Regions from separate parts of the Homo sapiens genome. Here regions 1, 3 and 4 are each linked to region 2. Evidence: promoter capture Hi-C in 16 types of primary human blood cells and fetal thymus (Javierre and others, 2016). All regions are on one chromosome and are shown on one strand. Each heading gives the region's core, a stretch centred on a gene start or on the middle of the fragment in contact. The rest is flanking DNA. Distances are from core to core; before and after follow the strand shown.

The links. Contacts are between HindIII fragments. The CHiCAGO score rates a contact against its expected background, and 5 or more counts as called.
Region 1: the fragment with the promoter of SLC25A1 here is called in contact with the fragment with the promoter of CDC45 in region 2 in 8 of 17 cell types (naive B cells, total B cells, total CD4 T cells and 5 more); the score reaches 11.7 in naive B cells.
Region 3: a fragment that was not itself captured here is called in contact with the fragment with the promoter of CDC45 in region 2 in 2 of 17 cell types (naive B cells and non-activated CD4 T cells); the score reaches 5.1 in naive B cells.
Region 4: a contact is called between a fragment that was not itself captured here and the fragment with the promoter of CDC45 in region 2, in 3 of 17 cell types (naive CD8 T cells, naive CD4 T cells and non-activated CD4 T cells). The highest score is 5.5, in naive CD8 T cells.

Annotation. Positions count from the first base shown.
Region 1 is chr22:19,177,403-19,180,102 of GRCh38, reverse strand. It overlaps SLC25A1 (solute carrier family 25 member 1), which reads left to right and starts at 1,367. Exons shown (of 9, transcript NM_005984.5): 1 at 1,367-1,523; 2 at 1,863-1,970; 3 at 2,062-2,161; 4 at 2,238-2,376. The coding sequence starts at 1,430. CLTCL1 (clathrin heavy chain like 1) reads left to right here. Exons shown (of 33, transcript NM_007098.4): 33 at 134-630. RefSeq lists silencers at 771-870, 1,071-2,150 and an enhancer at 1,322-2,069. The HindIII fragment of the contact is 6,402 bases long and covers 1-2,700 here.
Region 2 is chr22:19,478,589-19,481,288 of GRCh38, reverse strand. It overlaps CDC45 (cell division cycle 45), which reads right to left and starts at 1,369. Exons shown (of 19, transcript NM_003504.5): 1 at 1,270-1,369; 2 at 1,072-1,131; 3 at 244-336. The coding sequence starts at 1,320. It overlaps UFD1 (ubiquitin recognition factor in ER associated degradation 1), which reads left to right and starts at 2,096. Exons shown (of 12, transcript NM_005659.7): 1 at 2,096-2,206. The coding sequence starts at 2,204. RefSeq lists silencers at 1,420-1,469, 2,260-2,329 and an enhancer at 1,560-1,859. The HindIII fragment of the contact is 12,348 bases long and covers 1-2,700 here.
Region 3 is chr22:19,079,718-19,082,417 of GRCh38, reverse strand. The region is part of intron 2 of DGCR2 (DiGeorge syndrome critical region gene 2); the gene reads left to right. Among named protein-coding and RNA genes, the nearest start is that of DGCR11, 33 kb to the right of the region's middle. The HindIII fragment of the contact is 4,630 bases long and covers 1-2,700 here.
Region 4 is chr22:19,062,027-19,064,726 of GRCh38, reverse strand. It overlaps DGCR2 (DiGeorge syndrome critical region gene 2), which reads left to right. Exons shown (of 10, transcript NM_005137.3): 5 at 1,449-1,525. Among named protein-coding and RNA genes, the nearest start is that of DGCR11, 15 kb to the right of the region's middle. The HindIII fragment of the contact is 919 bases long and covers 945-1,863 here.

The DNA.
Region 1 (2,700 bases), core at 118-2,617, 300 kb after region 2:
GCCTCAGCGTCTGGGTGGTAAGGGCTGGTCCTATAGACCCTGCTCCCTGGGCCCCGGGCTACTCAGGGGCAGCCAGGAGAGGACCCCCATGGGCAGGAAGAGCTCTGCTCATTGTGGGCTTCCCCCTCTGCAGGCCCTGCCGTGGGCCCAGCCCCTGCCAGCTTCCCCTATGGATATGCCTCTGCTCCCAACTTCGCCAGCCTCCAATGTACAACTTCCGCGTGTAGTGGGCGTTGTCACCACCCACCCTACCTGCAGAGTTACTAACTTCTCCAAGGAGCATGTCACTCCAGCAGCACAGGGGACGCAATGGGAGGCAGGGACACCTGGACAATATTTATTTTTGCTGAAACCCAATGACGGCAACCTCTGAGCCATCCCAGAGCCTGGGGAGGCCAGGGTAGAGGCTGACGGCGCAAGACCAGCTTTAGCCGACAACAGAGACTGGACTGTGGGCCCTCCTGCTGGAGCCAGGCCTTCCTCCTGGGCGCCTCCGACTGGCTGGAGCTGCCCCCTCCAGGCCAGTTTGAAGACTACATGAACACGTCTTGTTTGGAGGTACCGGACCTCATAAAAGGACTCTCAGCCTCTTGGCAATCATAAATATTAAAGTCGGTTTATCCAGGCAAAGGTGCTCTGCTTGGTGCTGGTATGGGTAGGAGGGACGGGCCAGTTTCCTAGGCCCCGCAGTCCATTAAAGATTTGCTGGGTCCTCTTTGGGGTGTGGGACCTCCGTTGCCCAGACAAGCTGCCTAGGAGAATACAGCCGCTTGCATTTGTGGTCTTTCCTGACCTTGTTCGCTGAGCGCAGAAACTACAACCGGGAAAGGTGTGGGTGGGAACCGGCAGGTGAGGCCCGGCCCGTGGCTGCTGCGGGAGGGGGGCCCGGCGGCGTAGCCCCTTCTCACCGGCCTCCCGCCTCCCGCCTCCAGGTTTGAAACGTTAGAGTTCCTCTGGGACTGGGCTAGCCCCACGTGTTTTCGGGGAGGGTGTGCCCCTGGCCTCCGGGATCCCTGGGGATCCCGCCGCTCTCGACAGTCGCGCAGACCCGAGGCCCGCTATCCCGCGGCGCGGCACACAGTGCACCTTGACCCACTGCTCGGAGCTGGGCCACGGCTCCGCCTCCCGCAGCCCCGCCCCCGTCCCGCCGCTCGCGGTCGCCCAGGGACTCGGCCTCGGCCATTGGCTGCGCTTTGGCCCCGCCCCTACGCCTGCCTCGGCGCGCCCCGCCCAGGCCTCAGTTTCCCGGCCCGCACGGGGCGGGCTGGGGGCGGGGCCTGGCTCGGACCACGCGGGGCGGGACCTGGAGCTGACGCGGCCGCCCCGCCCCTGGGACCATAACCGGCCGCCGCCGCCACCGCGGACCGAGCGCGGAGTTCTGGAGTCTCGGACCCGAAGCCGCCACAGGGCGCCCCGCCTCCCGCCCGCCATGCCCGCGCCCCGCGCCCCGCGCGCTCTGGCGGCCGCCGCGCCCGCGTCCGGGAAGGCCAAGCTGACGCACCCGGGGAAGGCGATCCTGGCAGGTGGGCCCCTCCGGGACGCGGACCCCTCTCCCGCCGCGCTTCTGGGTGGGCCCGGGACGCTGAGGCCCCGCCCCACTTCCGGGTTGGGCCGTGGGCTGGGGAGTCGTGGAGGCGCGGTCCTGGTCCCCACCCGGCGCGCTGGGACTCGCCCGCCTCCCGTCTGTCACCCCCTGCGCCTCGCCGGGACAACGGGGTGAGGGCATGGGGGCGTGGGGCCCCAGCCTATGTTCCCCGCGGCACTGGCGCGGCGGCCGCGCCGACCGAAGTCCGGGACGGGGGAGGGGCCCGAGCGCCAGCGGCCGGGCGGGAGTCTCAGGAGCGGGTTCCCGGTCCCTGCAGGCGGCCTGGCGGGTGGCATCGAGATCTGCATCACCTTCCCCACCGAGTACGTGAAGACGCAGCTGCAGCTGGACGAGCGCTCGCACCCGCCGCGGTACCGGGGCATCGGTGAGGAGGGGGAGGCCGCGGCGCCGCGGGGGGCGGGTACCCAGGGCGGCGGCACCGAGGGCCGTGGGGTCCTGACCGCCCCCTCCCCCAGGGGACTGCGTGCGGCAGACGGTTCGCAGCCATGGCGTCCTGGGCCTGTACCGCGGCCTTAGCTCCCTGCTCTACGGTTCCATCCCCAAGGCGGCCGTCAGGTGAGGCCCGGCCGGTGGCTGCTGCGGGAGGGGGGCTCGGCCGCGGCAGCCCCTCTCACCCGCCTCCCGCCTCCAGGTTTGGAATGTTCGAGTTCCTCAGCAACCACATGCGGGATGCCCAGGGACGGCTGGACAGCACGCGTGGGCTGCTGTGCGGCCTGGGCGCTGGCGTGGCCGAGGCCGTGGTGGTCGTGTGCCCCATGGAGACCATCAAGGTGGGGAAGGTCCTGGCGAGGACCCCGGACACGCAGGGAGTACGGAGACGGGCGGCCCCGCTGGCCCGGTGCTCCCGGGGCAACCGGCAAGCTGGGGAGGGTCTCCTGGACGCCAGGGAAGGCCGGCGGGGTGACCGCGGGGCCCTGGGGCAGGACGCCTGCCACGAAGGGCCACCCGTGGAGGCTGAGTCTATGCTAAAGGCAGCCTTAAAGTCTTTAAAAAATACTTTTATAAAGCAGAAAACAAAATGACACCTTCACTGCCAAAACTGGAAAAGAGCAGCAAACATAAAGGGAGAGGCTGCTCACAGGGCTGCCCTGTGT
Region 2 (2,700 bases), core at 120-2,619:
AACAAGTTAAAACAAGTTCAAAGTTGGGGCTATCCACATTCATTATCTTTTTTTGCTGTCAATTTTGCTTCTACAACTTGGGCGTGGTAAGTCACCAGTAAATACAGCATGTTTTTCTCTTCCATATTGCCTAATGTAGCTGATACTTAAATACACGCTTAATCTATCGTGGAAATAGAATGCTGTGTCAAGAAATTACAATTGAGTAAAAAGCCACGTTATTCTAAAACGCATCTTCAATACCTGTTCTTTATGCTCAAGAAATGCAGTTTCAAGTTCTTGCCACCCAGAAACTGGAACCAGCGTATATTGCACGTGGTCACACTGGAACAAGGCCTGGAGAGAGAGTGTTTTCAAAGCCTATCTTATTTAGGACATTAGCAATTTACCTTGAAAAGAAACTGAGGAAGATTAGACGGGTTGAGAGACAAAAGACACGGGATAACATTAAAGCTAGTGAAATGCTTACGGGAAAAGCTAGGTGCTAGGGATATGAGCGTTTACCATACCATTCTGTGAATTTTGCAAATTACCAAAGTAAAACATCGGGGAGAAATGCCGATTTAACTTCCAGGCCTTCTGAAAAGTTCCTGATCCAAGGGCCTGACCAAAACAACGTAAATACTATGCCCTATTCAAAACCAAACTAACGATCTTCCCTAATAGACTAGGGGCTCCCATATTCCCAGCAACACCTGTGACACGACTATACCCACAGTTGTCACAGATTCCTCTCTCTCAAATCCCCCATTTGAGAGGCCACGACAGATCCAAAGTTTCCCCCAAATGCAACTGCTGTGTTCACCTATTAATATTAATAGCTTATTGCAAAAATACAAACTAGTCTCTTTACCTTTTACTTAATCCTTTATCCCACCCCACACCGTTGGGACAGGGAGGCAACCTCTCCTCCGAGTCTCTCTCCTCTCACTTGCTGTTCACCTCCTGCCCTGCTCCCTCTCCCACCCTAAGCCCTCAGCACCCATCCTGACACTCTGCCCGCCCTGCGCCCCCACGCAGCACCCTCACCTCGCGCGCCGGCCCCGCCCTCCTAGGGTCCGCAGAACTCACCTGAAGGATCTTGCACGCACACAGAGCATCCACGTCCGAGGCCACGAAGAGAAGGACCCTCTATCGGGGAAGAGCAGACCGGCTGAACACGGCGACCCGAACCCCGGCCCTCCCCTGCCTCCCGGTCACCCACGGTCGCTCCCCCTCATCCCTTCCCCACCGGCAAGGCCTCGGCGGGGGTCCCGGACTGGGCGTCACCTGGCTCTGGACCACCTCGTAGAACTCTTTGCGGAAATCGGACACGAACATAGCCACGGCGGCCGGACGCCTGGCGCTCGCGCTGAGGTACCAAGAGCCCGGCGGCGGTCAAGACTCCCGCCAAATCACGGCTCCTCCGATTGGTCCAGGGATCACCAACCAATAGCTTCTTAGTTCCCAGCCTTCCTTTCTTTCTGATTGGGCCACATTGGAGGCGGCCATTAGCGCTCTGCCATTCACGGCCAGAAAACTCCAGCCCGCCCCCAAAGAAGCGTCACCTCTGAGGCCGAACGCAAACACTGTTGCCCCCTTCAACTCTGACTCGCTTTTACCCAGAAAAGCGACGCTGGGCGGACATCTTTACTTTGGGAAGAGAAGCCTACTGCCTCCCACTGGGAACCCTCAGGGAAAGTATACTTCTAACCATACATTAAACTCAGTCACATACCCAATGGGGCAGCATTTACGTTTGCAATAGGTTTTTGGTGTGGTTTGAAGAAGGATTTGTAGCTTAGTTCCGCCCGAGTCCTCGATGGCTGAAGCAGAGGCAGTCTGGGTAGTGCATTGTGGGTAGTGTAGTCGTAAGGACAATGGGCCCTACTAAATTCGTCTGGAGGGGAATACTGTCAACACGTAATTTAAAATAACGTTTAAAAATACCTATAAAAGGGGAAATAAATCACGAAAGGGCATTTTAATGCTTCTACTGAGGGTGTTTTAGAGCCTAGCGTCTTCGCCTGGCCTTTTCTCTTTTGCAGCCGACGCTTTGTCCCGGGCACCCCCCCTCCGGGTCTCGGGTCCGGCACTTCCGGTGAGCCTCTGGGGCGTACCGGCTTGGCGCGGCGGCAGCGGCAGCGGCGGCTGGGAGAGCGGTCGGCGGGGTTTCTTCGTTGCATTGCCTGAGAGGAGCGGAGTCTGCCAGGTGGTGTCCATCATGGTAAGCGCTGACGGGCAGCGGGCGGGGGCTGGGCCTTGGCCCGGGGCCTGAGGTAGGGCCCGGCGGGGCAGGGCGGGGCGGGACGGCGGCGGAGGTGCCGAGTCACCCGGGCCTGAGTCCGGCCTGCAGGCTCATCGGCCGCACCGGGCACAAGCAGGACCCTTGACCACTAACCGCCTGTGGTCGCGTCCGCCGGTCCTGAACGTGGCTCGCATTCTGTCTCAGCCGGACTTGCCCTCCTTGACGAAAGAAAGGAAGGTTTGTGTCCATTCACGGGTTTCCCAAGTGCTGGACGCGCAACAGGTTTCCATAAACCCAAAGTTAGTTGCAAGGTTGCTGGGGATGGGAACAGAATCAGGGCGCTCCCCAGGGAGAATCCGTAGTGGGCATCCCCCGCTCTTGGGGGACACCCAGCTCTTGCCCCAGCTCCGTGAGCTCCGTGCCTACGGGTTCGTGCCTTCGAATCTGTACAGCGGTGTTGTGTTCGGTAATGA
Region 3 (2,700 bases), core at 197-2,696, 400 kb after region 2:
AATGACTGAATTTGCTAGATTAAAATTAAGATCTCTCGTTTATTGAAAGACACCAATAGGCCAGGTGCTTATGCCAGGAATCCCAGCACTTTGGGAGACCAAGGTGGGCAGATTGCCAGAGCCCAAGAGTTCCAGACCAGCCAGGGCAACGTGGTGAAATCCTGTCTCTATGAAAAAAAAAAAAAAAAAAAAAAAGAAATAATTAGCCAGATGTGGTGGTACACACTTGTAGTCCCAGCTTCTCAGTAGGCTAAGGTGGGAAGAATCACCTGAGTCCCTGAGGTCAAGGCTGCAGTGAGCCGAGATTACACCACTGGACATCAGAGTGAGACCCTGTTTCAAAAAAAAAAAAACAAAAAAAACCCCAAAAAACACCAGTAAAGACTGTGAAAAGACAAGCTAGAGTAGAGAGAAGATATTTGCAACACTTACAGCCTGTAAAGGATAAGGATTCTAATTCAGTGTATATAAAGAACTCCTATAAAGCATTTCGTAGATGGTGATTAAACATAGAAAAAGACATTTAAATTTAACCTCGTTAGTATTCTAAGACTACATACAGTGAGATACCACTTTACAGATGCTTAGACTGGCAAAAATTAAAATGTTGGAGAAGATATGGATAGTGTGGAAATTTTATGTGCTTCTTTACACCCACTCTGGAATAGAGACATTATCTTGCAAAGCTGAACATTCTTATTTTCTGTGATCCAGGATTTCTATTTAGGGAAACTCTGGAAAAATCCTTGCAGAATTGTTTGTACAGTTTTTCCAGAGTGGGTGTAAAGGAGCAGATAAAATTCCAAGCCATCCACATCCTCTCCAACTCTTGGTTTTGTCAGACATCTTAATTTTTGCCATTGATACATGTCTTGGAAACAACCCAAATGTCTGTGCTCACATGATGGAATGTTATACACCAGCAACAGTAAGTGAATGTTAGGTTTATGCAGCAACATGGATGAATCTTGAAAACAGAACGTCAGCTAAAAGCAAGTTGCTAAAAACGACATATGGCACAATATAGAGAAGCAAAACAGATCGTTATATTACTTATAGATACATACACATGTGGTAAACTAAAAGAAAAAAATAAGCGCAGTGATACACAAAATTCTAGTTCCTGGTGGAGAGACAGAGGGATATAAGACTGGGAGAAGCAAAATAATGCTTGATTTCCTAAATGGGGTGTGGGGAGGTCGCTCACAACTATATTATTAGGCTTATGAATCTTACATGTGTGCTACATACATTCTTTGAAATGTTTCACATATTATACAGCTTTTTTCCTTTCCAAAGAAAAGCCAATGGGAGAGTTAAACTGACCTGGTGTAGCAGAGCAGCTGCAACCATGGGCCTGCTTGAGTGAGAACAACAAGAAATAAGCAGTTTGCCCAGCAGCCTCCCAGAAAGGCTCAGCGCTTGAAGGCTCTGAGTGCCAAGGGTGGCAGGCATCAGGCATAGGCATGGGAGTGGGATAGGGATTGGTGGAATTCTCTTGGCACTCGCATTCCCTTCTTCACTTTCCATCACTGGGTGACTCTTTCTGCTACCATAAGATGTGGGGTTTCATTTCTTTTTTTTGAGACAGAGTCTTGCTCTGTTGCCCATTGGAGTACAGTGGTGAAACCACAGCTGAATGCAACCTCAAACCCCTGGACTCAAGCGATCCTCCCACCTCAGCCTCCTGAGTAGCTGAGACTACAGGCGTGTACCACCATGCCCAGCTAATTTTTAAATTTTTTGTAGAGACGAGGTCTCGCCCTGTTGCTGAGGCTGGTCTTGAACTCCGGGGCTCTAGCAATCCTGCCCCCAGCCTCCCAAAGTGCTGGGATTACAGGCATGAGCCACTGTGCCCCGCAGGAGTTGATTTTCTAGACCAACACTGTCCAGTGTAGTAGCCATGAGTCACATGTGGCTGTTTTGAAGGAAGATGTGCAGCAGGTGTAAAATACACACCAAATAGGAAAGACCTAGTACAAAAAAAGAATGTAAAACATCCCATGAATACTTCTTTATATTGTTTCCATGTTGCAGTAATAGTATTTTGAATATATTGGGTTAGATAAAGTATTAAAATTAATTTCATGTTTGTTTCTACTTGTTGAAATGTGGTTTGCATTGTGTTTCTATTAGACAGCACTTAAAGTCTGCAAAATAAGTGACACCAGGTACAACAGAGGGGAGTCGTGGAGGTTGAAAATAGAGGAATTAAGAGAAATTCTCTGTAGTGACAAGTAGGTAATAAGTAGGATGCTCAGGCCTGTCTTCTGCCCTGCTCTCCAGATGTCAGCAGCCAGGTGTTTTCCCAGACAGGAGATTGGAGGAGTCTTTTCTAGAGACACTGGCACTTCATACAAGAGGTAGAAAAGTGTCAACATAATGGAAGGTTTCCAACTGAAAGACTAGCTCTCCCACCGTGGTCCCTGACAAGCGTCTAGCCCACTAGGCTCACTAGAGCCTCTGGCTAGCTGGGTCACCTTCCTCTTATGATGAAAGACAACCAGTGCTGACCAGATCTAGAAGAAAACATCCACTGTGGATATTCGCCAGAGTCTGAACAAAGCACACCAGACCAGAAGGGCCACAGCAAAGTGGCCTGAGGCAGCCAGCTCTGCTGTATGTCATATCGTGGTTAAATGTGGGGGCTTGAGCCAGGGACTGGGGCTGCTCCCCTGCTTTCACCACTTACTGGCTGTG
Region 4 (2,700 bases), core at 155-2,654, 420 kb after region 2:
CAGCCTCGCCCACTGGAAGCCCAGGAGATCCATGGGTAGGAGTGTGCATCGAGATAGGTGGAGGGTCCTGGGAGCAGGGGCAGGCTGGACTCTGCTGCTACTTTGTGGGACTGTGGGGCAGCCCCTTTCATTGGTACCCCTCTCCTTGTACAAGTGCAGTTGCTGAGCGCAGGCAGGGGGCTGGGGGTGCTGGCTTGTGTGGGGAGAACTGCTTGGTGTGGGGCTTCGTGGGCCTTGTGCAAGGGGTGTGCAGTGTAGGTGGGGGTTCCCCCCAAGAAAGCAAGGGGGCCTTCGCTTCAAGACCCAAGCTGGGTTTTGACTCCACAGTTATGCCCTGTGAGAGTTTGGCAAATCACAAGACGGAGTTGTTTTTCCTTCTGCAGCTACAAAGGGAGGAAACTAACTCTTAGCTCACAGGTTGTTGTACTAACCCCATGAGGACAGGCCTGTGAGTCCAGTGGAGAAGCAAGAGGGTATAGCCCGGAGGGCAGGGCAGCCCCATCTCTGAGGACAGCCTTGTGGTTGCACAGCATAGGGCAGAGTGTGCCATCCCTGGGCTCCTGCCATGCGGGGAGACCTGCTGATGGGCATCTCTAGGCTTGGGGCTGGAAAGCTGGGCCAAGGGACATGGACTAGGCAGGAGCTTATGGCGGTCAGCCAGATGCCAGTGCAAGGTCCTTTCAGTGCTAGGCCTGCATGCTCAGGAGCAGGCTGCAGGCCTGAGGTGGGCTGGCTCTGAGTGGGAAGCCGTGCAAGTGTTTTCAGCCCCCATGGTAGTGGATATTTGCAGGGACTTATGTCTTTATTGAGATGCAGTTCACATGCCATGAAAATCTCCCCTGTGGAGTGCCCTGTCCTATGGTTTTAGCATAGTCACCGAGTTGTATTCATGGGGTTTCATGTCTACCAAGAATAAGATTGTTCTTGCTTAAATTGTGAAAGCTTTACCGGTTTAGCTCATAGAAACAGTCTTGGCAAGAGTTCCCTGAGATAAAACTTTTCCTGCCCTGTGAACTTTCTTGTTTTGAATTTTAATGCATTCTAACATGAGTGTCTCATGTTAGAAGCTCAGTGTTGTGGAGGTCAGTATAGCTATTAAAAAACAATCCCAGCACTTTGGGAAGCCGAGGCGGGTGGGTCATGAGGTCAGGAGATCGAGACCATCCTGGCCAATATGGTGAAACCCCGTCTCTACTAAAAAAAAAAAAAAAAATACAAAAATTAGCTGGGCGTGGTGGCCTGTGCCTGTAATCCCACCTACTCGGGAGGCTGAGGCAGGAGAATTGCTTGAACCAGGAAGTCAAGTTGCAGTGAGCCGAGATCGCACCACTGCACTCCATCCTGGTGACAGAGCGAGACTCTGTCTCAAAAAACAAAAAACACACAGTCATTGATGGTTGCATCCCTCCTGCCGCTGAGATCTCTGTCTCTGTCTCTGTGCCCTGCAGGTTGTGGGTTGGCTATCAGTATGTTATCACTGGCCGGAACCGCTCCTTGGAAGGTCGCTGGGAGGTGGCATTCAAAGGTGAGCCCTTCTGGTGTGTGGGAGTGTTTGAAGCTGGGCAGAGTCACCCTGATTCGGGGCCTCCCCTCCTCCCTCTTACCCAGTGCTGCCTGGCCCGTAGGGGTGCTGTGCAGGGAGTGGGTGAGCCCCAGTTGCAGGGAGGGCTGCGGTCATGGGGCCAGTGCAGCCTGCAGATCAGGCCCTGCATTGGGCGGTGGCTGTCTCTGGAACCCTCTGTTGCATCTCACTTTGGCCAGCTTTCTAGATTGTCCCCCGCCTCCTTTTGAAGTTAAAGACCTTGGAGTATAAAAATGAGCATGCAGAGTGTGCCCCTGGCAGGCTGGAGGGGAGGACAAGCTTGCCAGGACAAAGGTCAGACGTAGAATCCAGACCTGAAGGAAACTATCAGGCAGATAGAGAGAGAGAGAGAGAGAGAGAGAGAGTGAGCATGCATGTGTGTGTGTGCGCAAAGATTTTATGCGGAGCTGCTTGGAAATACCAAGACGACGTAAAGGAAACATGGCTGCTGTTTCCTTTACATTCCCTGGGCTCGGACTTGGCTTGCCCTTCCTGTCCCATTGCCCTGGCACTGGCGAGCTCCTCCTGGACATACTCCAGCAGTGCCTTCTCCAGCTGCCGCCAGGGTCACACTCCCTTGCCCTGCCCCTTCCCTGTCTGTTGGGCTGTACTTTGTGCCTGTGGCTTGAGCTAGGATTTGGGTTCTTTTCGTAAACACATCCCAGTCCTGCTGTTGATGTCTTAAGTATCTCTAAGAAGGATAAATGAGGAGTGATGGGCCTGGGGACAGGGTTGAAAAGGGTCAAGGCCTGGGTGGCCGGCTTCCCTGGAGAAAAGAGGGCCCCACAGAGGCGGGGCCATGCCTGGCTGCTGGGACAGGGCAGGAGCAGAGGTGGGGGCTGCAGAGCCCAGCAGACTGGGGCCACACCTGCTGTCCCGATCCTGCTCAGGACAGATGCCACCCTGTTCTCATGACCACCAGTGCCCTCCTGAGAGCCCCAGCCACATTTGCATTCCCTGGCTTTATGAGTGCATTGTTTAGATTGCTATTGACTAATCAATGGCTTCTGGGTTTCCAGGCCCCAGAGTCAAAGTTTGCCTCATAGAGCATAATTATCCTGGTAGCTTGTCCTCCTGACACTGGTGGTTGAAGAGAAGACATGATTCTGAGTGGGATG